Regions from separate parts of the Homo sapiens genome. Here region 1 is linked to region 2. Evidence: promoter capture Hi-C in 16 types of primary human blood cells and fetal thymus (Javierre and others, 2016). All regions are on one chromosome and are shown on one strand. The core of a region is centred on a gene start or on the middle of the fragment in contact, and the rest is flanking DNA. Distances in the headings are between cores, read along the strand shown. Region 1 has its middle 8.7 kb from the start of MIR4686. Region 2 holds the start of KCNQ1-AS1 (KCNQ1 antisense RNA 1).

Region 1 (5,371 bases), core at 1,621-4,120, 680 kb after region 2:
GAGGATCACCCAGGCCAGGAGTCCAACACCAGCCTGGGCAACATATGGAGATCCCCTATCTCTACAAGAAATTAAAACATTAGCTGGGCGTGGTGGTGCGCACCTGCATTCCCAGCTCCTTGGGAGGCTGAGGTGGGAGGATTGCTTGAGCCCAGGAGTTTGAAGCTGCAGTGAGCTATGATGGTGCCACTGCACTCCTGGGTGACAGAGTGAGGCCCCATCTCTTAAAAAACGTATGTGTGTGTGTATGTGTATACAGAAAGGGGGGTCTCAGCTGGGCGCGGTGGCTCACTCCTGTAATCCCAGCACTTTGGGATGCCGAGGCAGGTGAATCATGAGGTCAGGAGTTCCAGACCAGCCTGGCCAATATGGTGAAACCCTGTCTCTACTAAAAATATAAAAATTAGCCAGGCATGGTGGCGCATGCCTGTAATTCCAGCTACTCGGGAGGCTGAGGCAGGAGAATCGTTTGAACCCGGGAGACAGAGGTTGCAGTGAGTCGAGATCACGCCACTGCACTCCAGCCTGGACAGAGCGAGACTTCATCTCAAAAAAAAAAAAAAAAAAAAAAAAAAAAAAAGAGGGGGAGTCTCAAGGAGATGCTTGTATGCTCACGTTCATAGGTTCAGAACTCACAAGAGCCAAAAAGCGGAAGCAACCCAAGTGTGTGTTGACAGGTGAATGAATGGACAAAAGATGGCCCATCCTAGAGAGGAAGAAAATTCTGACACTGCTGCATAGGGATGACCCCGAGGGCATCGTGCTGAGTGAAATAAGCCTCAGAAGCACAGGTACTGCAGCATCCCACTTAGACACAGTCCCTAAGGCAGTCACAGGCGTAGAGACAGAGAGCCATTGTCGGTACCAGGAGCTGAAGAACGAGTGTTTAATGGGGAACAGAGTTTCAGTTTTAGAAGATGAAAAGAGTCCTGGAGATGGCAGTGGTGACGGTTTTGCAACCATGTGAATGTACTTAATGCCACTGAACTGGACAATGAACAGTGGTTAAAATGGTAAAATTTAGCCAGGCGCAGTGGCTCACGCCTGCAAGCCTAGCACTCTAGGAGGCTGAGGTGCTGGGAGGTGTGAGGGTCACTTGAGTGCCAGGGTTCAAGACCAGCATGGGCAACACAGAGAAACCTCATCTCTACAAAAAAGCCGGATGTGGTGGCACCTGCTTATAGTCCCAGCTACTTGGGGGGCTGAGGTGGGGGGATTGCTTGAACCCAGGTGTTCGAGGCTGCAGTAAGCCAAAATTGTGCCACTGCACTGCAGCCTGGGGGACAGACTGAAACCCTGCCTCAAAAAAAAAAAATCAAAAACGAAAACAAACAAACAAACAAAAAAAACAGGTAAATCTTATATTATGTACATCTTACCACAGCAAAACAATAATCATTTTACAAGCCCAGTAATAGAAAGCAGTCAGAACAGAGGAGGGTGGCGACAGCCTCGGAGGTCCTCGGGGCTCCAAGTGCACCCCGGCCTGCGGGGAGTGGGCAGGGACGGGGGTGGAGAAGGGAGCGGGCTTCGGGGAAAGGGCCGGAGGGAAGCAGCCCCTGCTCCGAGCCGCCTGGGCCCATGCTGGAGAACCCAAGTCCCGGGTCCACTGGCCGTGGCAGGGAGAGCTGGCCCATGGCTTTGCCATGTGGCGGCTGATCCACCCTCTCTTCTCATCTCTGAGCCGGGTGTTCCCAAACTTCCCTCCTGGTCTGTTCATCCACCAGGCTCTGAGGGCCAGCCCTGCCTGGCAAGGGGGGAACCAAGGGGCCAACTTTAGTTTTCCAGAAGCCTCTGTCCAGGGGAGGAGTCGACGTGAACGAATCGGTCACACACACGCAGAAAGGTGCCGCTGCTGGGGACCTGTGGGGCGGGGGCGGGGCAGAAGGAAGGTCCCCTGTTTGGGGGACCCTTTATTAAAAACAGGCGGCAAGCTGAGGCGTCCAGCTGAGTTCATCCCAGGCCCCAAAGTAATCGCACGGCCAATAAGCCCTGCCTAAGATGAGGACGGGTGGGTCTGGACCGAGGCCCTGGCGGGAGGGAGGGTCCTGGGCGTGCCACCAGCTCTCCGGTCGGAAGCTTCTGCATGGGCCGTGCCCTGCGCTGGGAGACTCCTGCCCGGGCAGCCTTGCTCCAAGGTCGGCTCCACAGAGGGTGCCCGCCCTCTCAGCCCTGGCCTGTGGCACCTGCCCACAGCCCTTTCTTCCCTGGATGCAGTTTTTGCCCCCTCTGTGTCCTCGGCTGCACGAGTAGGGGCTTTCTTGGGTTGGCTGCCCGCCTGGCCCGGACTGACCCGGACTGGCTGAGGCTGAGGCTGACAGTGCAGGGAAGGAGCCAGAAGCCACTATGGCTGCTGTGCAGAGACCAAGGTGTCTCCCTACACCTGTGGCCCCCAGGGCCCCAGGGACACAGGGTCCACACCCTGCCCCACCTGCTCCATCTCCGGGACGCCCTCGCTCCCCAATCTGATTGCACAGGGTGGGGGGCCCAGCAGCCTTGGTGACAGTTCTTCATCCCAAGGGCCCGCCCAGTTTCTCCTGGCTCCTGGGGATGGGAGTGGCCTGGGTTGTGGCCCCACCAGCTCTGTGACAGGGCTCTTGATGCTTCTCAGGCCCTAGTTTTCCTGAGACCTGCTGGCCAGGAGCTCAGGCCTCCTGGTTTCTGGTTACTTTTCCTCCCCTAGAAAGCAGCCTTGGCAGACAGAACAGAGGCCCAGAAGATCCCGGGAGGCTCCCCAGGCCCAGAATCTGGGGAACTTGCAAGGATTTGGAATCCTGGCCGGGTGTGGTAGCCGAGCCTGTAATCCCAGAATTTGGGGAGGCTAAGGTGGGAGGATTACTTGAGGCCAGGAGATTGAGACCAGCCTGGGCAACACAGTGAGACCCCCTCTCTACAAAAAAATTTTTAAAAATAGCCAGGCGTGCTGGTGTGCCCCTGCAGCTCCAGCTACTTGGGAGGCTGAAATGGGAGGATGGCTTGAGCCCGGGAGGTCAAGGCTTCAGTGAGCCATGATCAAGCCACTGCACTTCAGCCTGGGTGACAAAGACCCTGTCTCTCAAAATAAACATTTAAAAAATAGAAGTTAAATCCTCTTTTGGAGACTGTGGGGTGAGGGGAGTGTGGCCACACCACAGCCCTTCCACCTCCCCATTGTGTGCCCCGAACTGTGCTGTGCTGGCCACTGGCCTCACCCTCCCTGAAGCATGGCAGGTCCCCCACCCCCAAGGCCATGCTGGGGTGGGGACAGGGGCCATGTGCTTCCCACTTGGAGGGGGCTGTTCCAGACACCTCCCTGGCCGCCCCTGGCAGGGTCTCGGCTGTACTGGATGTGAGGACCGTGGGCCTCCCTTCCCCCAGACTATGAGAGCCTCCAAAATTGGGACCGTGCTGTTTCCCTTTCCGTGCTGTTTCCCAAAGGGCACCCAGGAAATGCTTGCTGCGTGAATCAGTGAATGAGTGAGTTCATTCACCTGGGGGCTGGGTGGGGACGATGGAGCCTTCCAGCCTCCTGGGACCTGCCCTCAGTGTGGAAAGTGAGGAGGCATCTGTCTTCCTGAGGAAAACCTGGGCTTAGTCCTCCCTCTGGCCCAGGAGGGGACCGGACCCCACAGCTGGAGGGAGCCGGCTTAGCTGACAGCGAGTGTATTAAAAACAAGCTTTGGAGCAAAGCGGACAAGCTCAGGTGTTGGTAGAGTTCATCCCAGGCCCCAAAGTAATCACATGGCAAACAAGCCCTGTCTAAATATCACGGCGGCTGGGGCAGCGGCACGCAGCGGCCTGGAAATGTCAGCCGGGGGTGGGGGCTCCTCCGAGCCCCGGGATTAGCAGAGGTACCTGAAGTGAATGCGCCCACCTCCTCCTTCCTGCTCCTGCTCAGGACCTGGGCTGGGCCAGCCCGGGGCACCTGGGGAGGGGCTCAGAGGGTCTCACTGGGGCCAGGGGCTCTTCTTTCAGCCCCAGCCCGGGCTGGTTCCCATGGGGTAGCAGGCTGAGGAGAGTGGGGAGACTGAGCTTGGCCGGAGTGGGGCGGACGCACTTCCAGGCCCAAACCAGCAGCCCACGGGTGGGGGCAGAGAAAGCTGCCCCCCTGCAGGCCCAGTGAGTCCTCGAGAGAGGGGGCCACCCGGCCATGGGGGGGTGGTGATGTTGGTTCGGGGAACCTAGGGCATCTGGACCAGCCCCTGGACAAGGCGGTCACAGCAGCCACTGCCTGAGCAGGCCACCTGCGGGCTTCCCTCCAGGTCTGCCCATCGGCTCAGGGCTTCCAGAGCCCAAGGGAGCAACACGTTTCTCCTGAGCACGGGTGGAGGGAAAATAAGGATGTTTACGATCGAGTTGCCCATGGAAGCGTTACCAAGCCCCCTGGAGACTCATCTCACCGCAGTGGGACCTTTGCATTCTCTCAGGCGGTGGGGGTCTCTGCCGTGTTGTCCGTAAAGTGTCAGCGTGGGGCCAACTGGGGACCTCAGCAGCCACGTCCAACCCTCATCTGAAACAAGAACTAGAGGCCTGGGCTGCTCCTCCCTTCCCGCCCTCAGGAGCACAGGGTGGCAGGAGGTGAACTCCATGGGCGAGGGGCTCTTGCTCTTGCAGGCCCCCAAAGTCAGGCAGGTGCAGAAGGGAAGGACAGGATTCAGGGACAGGAGACACACAGGGGGTCCCCTCTGTTCCAGGATGCTCCCAAATCTGAGCCCAGCTGCCCCCAGGGTGGAGGGTGTGTGGACAGCCGGCCAAGAGGGGCGGGGCCACAGAAGGCCCTGGCGAGGCCGTGGGGCCAAGCAGAGGAGCCTACAGTGGCTGGCCAGACGGGTCCTAGGTGATGCAAGGGGTCCTCCGCACCCCTGTTCTGTTTCCCCGGCTCTGACCCAGTGTGCGGCCTCTCCTCCATGTCTGTATGTGGCTGCCTCCAAGGCCCCTCTCCTCAGGCCCTGTATGTCCAAGCTGGGCCTCCTTCCTCTGATCGCCCTTGGGAGAGGTGGCATTGAGGTCACCTCCTCCCCTCCCAGAGTCTGCATCTTGTGGGCAAATGCCCCAGTGCCTCCCACCATCCTCCATGCATGCAGCTGCCTGCCCAGGTCCCCTGTGAACGCAGCCCAGGGCCGTGCAGGCCACAGGCGGGGCTCCTCTCCCCAGGTGGGGCCTCCAAGTCTACACGTGTGGCTGGGAAGGGGAGTCACAGCACAGATGGAATGAAGCACATGAGCCCTGGGTGTGGACCTGCCTCAGCTCAGAGCAGCGGTGGGACCACATCTTCTCCCTGCCACAGGCCAGGTGACTAGCACCCAAGCCCGTGGCACTGGCACTGCTGGGGGGCCAGGGCGGGCTGTGGCCTTGCAATGAGATGTGATTTGCTGTCAAAGCACAGCTGCCG
Region 2 (6,151 bases), core at 319-2,818:
GGCTTCTGCTCCTGGTTGGTCAGAAAGTCCGGGGATCCTTGGCTCCGGTTAAAGGGGCCCCCACGTCTGCCGTCTTGCCCGGCCGCCTCCAAGTGCCGCCGGCCCAGGGCTGAGGAAGGCGGGCCGCGGGGAGAAGGCGCGAGGGCCGGGCCGGGCAGGGGGTCCCGGAGCCAACCCCACCGCCCGGGCCGCCCCGGGCCCGCGCCCGCCGCCCCCACCGCGCCGCGCGTCTGTTTGGAGAAGAAAGCGGGCCAATTTGTTTTCATTCAGAATCACTTAAGATCCCATTTTGGAGAAATGAAAAGAGAGAAGCGCGCTTCCCGGGCCCGGGCCGCTGGGTGCCCGCCCGTGCCCGGCGGCGCGTCGAGTGGAGGGACAGCGGCCCCCTCCCTGCCCTCGGCCCCAGCACGCCCGGCCGCGGCTCCCGGAGGTCCGAGGAAGGCGGCGAGGCCGCGCTCATCTGCATGAAGCGCACACTCGCGGCCCATCTGCAAAGGCGCAATTAAACGCGGGGGTGGGGGGGCAGGGGCGCCCGAAATTAGCATTTCCGCGGCCATCTGGCGCGAGGAGCGGGCGCGGCCGGACAAAGGGCGCCGGGCGAGGGGAGAGGCGAGTGTGCCGCGGCATTGACCTGCAAATGAGGCTTTGTGCGCGCATTAAAGCTCGCCGGACCCCCGACCCCGGCCCCCGCCCCGCCCGCCAGGCCCGCGGCCCCTAGCGGCCCAGGCTCGGACTGGGCACCCCGAAGGTCTGGGGGTCGGGCCGGGCAGTGCCGCGACTGGGCAGGGGGCCGGGCCGGGCCGGGCCTGGCCGGGCCAGGACAGGCTGTGGAGCGTCGGAGCCCCCCACCCAGGCTGGGTTCCTCTGCAGCCTCCAGGAGAGCCCCTGGGACCCTGGCCCCTTGAACCCTACCCCTGCCCCCATCCGGTCCTCGCCCCTCTGGGCCGGTATTCCCCAGCCTACTCCTGGAAAGGATTTCTCAGGACGCAGGGGTCCTGGCTAGAATCCCTCGGGGTGGGTAAGTGGAGGGGGCGTGGACAGGTGGGGGCTGCGTGGTGGGGGCAATTTTGTATTGGGAGCTACTAAAAACTGGCCACCTGGACAGGTTTTTGTTTTTGCCATGGTCATTAATGCCCTCAATGTTTGAAAAAGGCCATTTCACAGTGTTTTATGGGCCTTAAAAATCAGGGACTCTTTGAAAATGGTTGTGGGGCAGCTTAGTGACAGCCAGATGATTAGCAAGAGCTCAGTATCAGGTCTTTAGGGGACCAAGTGTGTGGGGTGGTGGTACAGGAAATCTGGGACTCCCCAGCTGGTACAACTGAGGCTGCAGCCAGGGCCAATGGGCCGGGGAGCAGGAGGCCGGGACTGGGAGCCCTGGGGCCAGCTGGGCTCTGCCAGATACCTGGGTCACTTGGAGGCCCCTGGAAGGCCCCCTGGACTTTCTGCCACATTGCTCAGGCTCTGGGTGCCTACAAACTGCCCCCCATGCCGTTGGGCTGCTCATTAGGGGTTGTGGCCCAAATTAAACTGCAGTAGCCACCCCCAGAACCTCCAAAGGCCTGGGGGGCAATGAGGGGCACAGAGGACAGTGTGTGGCTATCTCTGGGTCTCTGTTCTCCCAGGTGGACCAGTGGGGGTTGTGGCGATGCTGTCCAGGGTGAGGTCCAGCTACGGTTGCCGTCCTGTCTGTCAGCACCAGCACCCAGCACATCTGTAGGGCCTGGGCCCCGGACCCAGCCTGAGGGTTATGAGGAGGTTTCCTGAAGGAGAAAAGCCAGAGTGGAGTCTGGAATGGAGCAGGGGGGACCATGGCCTGCCCTCAGTCTGCTAGGTGGGGCTGGAACCTGGGGTTTTGCTTGGGTGTGAAGAAGGAAGAGGCTGGGGATGCAGCTAGGTGCTGGTTCCTCATAGACCGAGTCATGATTTATGGGGACCCTCAATTATATCCCCTTAGCAGGGGCCACAAAGTCTCAAATCTGCCCAGAAATCCACACCTCGGAGCTCAGGTGAGGTCTTCTTCAGGTTCTCCCTCTGCAGTGCAGATACTGTCAGAAAGAGCAAGCTACAAATGGAGAAGTCAACAACACTCTAGTGAGAATTACCCTGCCAATTAATTTTCTCAGAAATCGGGGACTCAGGGACCGGTGTGTAAACACGAGTCCCTTAATGGGGGGTTCAGACAGGGTGGGTGTGGGCACACAGGGGTCCGTGCTAAAGCCTGGCACTGGATCCCAGGTGTGGGGACTCCAGCTCCTCCCAAGGGGCAGGGGATCTCCCGTCTGTGATGTGGCTGAATGACTCACCGCCTCATCTGTGGGCCAACATGTGTGGTGGGGCAAAGGTCTCTGGCCTGGTAGCCGTGTGAGCTGGAGGGGGGGCACTTCTCCATCCAGGCCTTACAGTTTCCCTTAGGTAAATGGGGCAGAGTAACCCCCTCCTTCCCCTACCACAAGGGTTCTGGGAGGTGTGGAGCCTGGGGTGTGGTGGTGCTTGGCACTCCGTGTTCTTTGGAAGCTGGAATGAGGTTCCTCAGGCCAGTTATGGGTGTGAGATGTCTGGAAAAACGAAGTAGACTGGACGGTGGCCTCATCTATCTGTGCTGGGCTGGGCACCAGCACCTCGCTCTCCCAACCTCTTGGGGTGCGCCCATAGAGGAGATGGAAGCACAGAGGATTTCAGAAACTCCCCACCTTCAGTGTTGCCTTCAAAAGTATACTGCTGTGGCATGTGGGCAAGGAGGGTTCTGGGGATGGGTGGGCTGTGGGGGGAGTAGGCGCATGGGTGGGGTGGGCCCAGGGGAGCAGGCATGAACCCAGGGAGAGGGTGCATAGATGGGGTGGAACCCTAGGGCTTCTGAGGGACTGCAGTGCGGCTGGTCTGTGTGGACAGGCGCTGGAGGGGGCACTGTGCAGAGAGCAGGATGTGGGTGAGCCCCTCTTTCCCCTCTGTCCTTCCCATCCTCCAGGACAGGGAAGCAGCCCTCAGCAGACAGTGTGAACCCCATGCCCAGTGTGAGCATGAGCACAGCTCCCTGCGCTTTGTCTTCAGGAGGTCTCAGATCCAGCCTGCATTGGCTTCCAGCAGACCCCTATTTCCTAATCCTCAAGGGTTGTTCTTGTCAGGCATCCCATTTGCAATGCCCTCGAGGGCCGCTGCCCGTCTGGCAGGGAGATCAGCTTCAAGGACACAGACAGTGTCTGCGGTGGGTGCTGAGTGCCGTAGGGGAGACCCTGGGCTGCTTTTGGAAGAGGAGCATCATGGAAGAGGAGCCCTTTCGCTCTGGGCTTTGGAGGATGAGTAGGAGTTTGCTAAACCCAGATGGGGAGGAGGGCCAGTTTGGCAGGTGGCGTTTGGGAGGACCTGGGGCAGCTGCCACAGCATGCGCCGGGCCTGAAGATGCCTCCTGCGCCTGGGTTTCCAGCTCTTGCTTCCTGAGCCGAGTTGGAGCTGATATCCATGCCTCCCAGCCACGGGATGCTCTTTTCAGTGTGACCAACCAGGCAGAAGAGCTGAGTGACAGGCAACTCGTGGCCTGGTCTGTGGAAGGCAGGGCTGCCTCTGAGCCTGCGGGTTGGGGCCAGAGTCCGGGCCTGGGCCTGCCACTCAGGAGGGAGCCCGGGGCAGCCTGGAGGAAGCACTGGGCCCTGGGGCCCGGCTGCAGAATCGGGGTGTACCCTGCACTGCGGAGGGCCTGGCTGTCCCTGGGGCTGATGACTGGGTGTGGGTGGGGACGGGCCCCAGTGGCCTGAGAACACTCGCACTTCCCTGCCCCCTCTGTCCCTCTCTTTACACCTGGCCCATAAGCGGCCAGTCTGGCTGGAGACCCTAAGCTGGAGAACCACTGGAAAAGAAATGGTTACTTTCTGCCTGGAGAGGGGGTATTAAGCCTCACCTGGGGCTGAGGCCTGGTCTCTTTAGGGCCTCCATGGAGCCCACGTGGCTCCCAGGTGCAGCCATTCTCCTCCACGAGGTGCTTGGGGGATTTGGCTGAAGCCAGGGCCAAAAAGCCAAAGCCTCTTCCTCCATAGCCTTTGCCCAAATGCAGAGGCCAGGGCTGGGGATAGGGGGAGGCGATGAGGGACCAGCTATGGCTGGTGGTCTCAGGTCCTGCAGGATGGTAAGGAGGGGAGGGTGGGCGGGTCTCCTGTCTTCGATGCAACTCACGCAAGGGCTGTCCTGGTGTCTTCTTGTCAGCTTGCTGCCGAGGCTGCCACCTCAGCTGCCTGTCTGTGAAATGGGTCCATGTGTCCCCATGCCTTGGCCCGTCTCCTCTTCCCTACAACAGGCTGCTGTGCAGCCTGGGGCCCTTTCCAGGCCACCTTCTCCATCTGCTCACTGAGGAGGGACCCCTGAGTCAGCGAGGCTCCAGCTTGGCTGCACCCAGCTGAAAGGTGAGTTGGTTCCCAGCCTCAGGCTCCTCATACGTAAGATGGGGCAGCAATGCTTGGCAAGTTCAAAGGAGATCCCTGTTAATGCTTGGCTTGGAGACTCCCTTGAGCCCACTCTGGGCTGCAGGAGGCCCTGGTTGTGGGGCAGGGTCTCTGCCACCTTCACCAGCCATCCTCACACTTGTGGGTGCCCCAGGGTGGGGCACGTCCCAGCCCTCTCTCTGGTCAGCAGAGGCTAAGTGAGGCCTGGGCTCAGGCACCAGAGGGCCCAGGTAGGGGAGGCGGCCGCCAGGTCAGGCCAGGCCGGCTCCAGCGGAGGCTGAATGGGCACTCTGTCCTGCCACCCTCGGCTGTCATCTGCCGCTGGGATTTGGTTTCCTGGACTGGTGCGGCTGCAGGTGGATTCTGCAAGGCCGGGTGACCTCGCAGCTTGGAGCCCCCGTGTCTCCTGAGCCAGGCGGTGGCCGGGGGGTGGGAGACAATGAAGCCTTTTCCTGGGGAGCAGGGGCCAGTCCGCGTAGGGGAAAGCAGTCTGCCTGTGCCCTGAGGCCTCTTGGGCTCGCTGGCGGCAAGAGGGGCCGCTCGGGACAGCGGTGCCAGGCCTTGGCAGGGCTCTCTGCAGGCTGGGCCAGCCAGGCGCCGGGTAACTGAAGCCACCTGGACACACGCGGGGGCTGTGGAGCGTTTTCGGGACACAGTTCTGCCTGCTTCACCTCAAGGATGGTGGCAGGGGGGCCATGGGGGAGGGAGGGAGGAGTGTGTTCGTGGCACCAGGGGCCTGGGGACTGACCCCCACTGGCCTCTCTGCTCCCTAGCGCAGCCTGGCTTCTGCTGAGATGAGGGCTGGGGCCGGCCCTCTCTGCTGGCTCCTCCGGAGGCACAGGTGCTCCTGGTAGTGCAGGGAGTGAAATTGTCTTGCCCCCCGCCCTTGTTCTTTGGGCCACGAGTTAAACTGAGCAGATTAGCAGAAGGAAAGAAATAATTTTCATTATGTACGTACGAGGGAAGGCCACAAAGCGTGACACCCAGAGAAGGGCAAGGTGATTTAAGCTTATATGTCCTCCCAACCACAGAGAGGAATAGGGGCTGGGGCTTCTGGGGTGGGGGCTGCACCAGTCGTGGGAGGGCCAGGGAGGGAGCATGAGTGACGGTGGTCTCCAGATGCAGATGAAAAGTCCCCTGGGACCCACATTGCCTCTGGGCAGCCCTCAGCGGAGGAGGTGAGGGGCCTTCTGGGCCGATGCCCCTGGCGGCCGCCTCTCCTGCCTGCAGCTCCAGGTGGTCTACATCCCAAAGCAGCATAGTCTGGCGTTTCTCGAGCTCCTTCAGTGGTGGGGGTGAGGGGGCTTCCTGGTGGCACAGAGCTCCAAGTTTGAAGTCCAGCGGGTGCGGTTGGTCACTGGGTGCCCTTGGACGAGGGCTGAGCTTCCAGGGCCTCATCTCTGTCCCATCAGCTGGGGGCATGGTAGCATCAGGTAGTCGATGAGGGGCCCCGGCTGGCACTTGCACTGGAAGGCCTCTGTGGGGTGACTCTCCTCATCCCAGGGCCAGGGAAGGGGTGAGACCAGGGCTGGGGGCACACAAAGCCCTCTTCCTGGGAGTGTTCCCAGCTTTCACTGGTTCATTTGTTCCATCCACAGCCCCCAACCTGGGTATGCCCACCTGGCTGTCTTTGCCCCAGAACAGTGGTCGTAGCCAGTGGTGTCAGAGGAGTGGCCGGGCCTGGGAGCCCGAGAGGAGGCAGCTTCTGAGCCCGGACT

Evidence for each region. The method cuts DNA at HindIII sites, captures the fragments that hold promoters and counts their contacts. A CHiCAGO score of 5 or more calls a contact.
Region 1: a contact is called between a fragment that was not itself captured here and the fragment with the promoter of KCNQ1-AS1 in region 2, in 3 of 17 cell types (M1 macrophages, naive CD4 T cells and total B cells). The highest score is 6.4, in M1 macrophages.

What each region holds. Positions count from the first base shown.
Region 1 is chr11:2,179,066-2,184,436 of GRCh38, reverse strand. No RefSeq gene overlaps it. Among named protein-coding and RNA genes, the nearest start is that of MIR4686, 8.7 kb to the right of the region's middle. The HindIII fragment of the contact is 1,577 bases long and covers 2,082-3,658 here.
Region 2 is chr11:2,856,986-2,863,136 of GRCh38, reverse strand. It overlaps KCNQ1-AS1 (KCNQ1 antisense RNA 1), which reads left to right and starts at 1,568. Exons shown (of 3, transcript NR_130721.1): 1 at 1,568-2,147; 2 at 4,198-4,394. RefSeq lists enhancers at 1-178, 4,407-5,388. The HindIII fragment of the contact is 10,846 bases long and covers 1-5,443 here.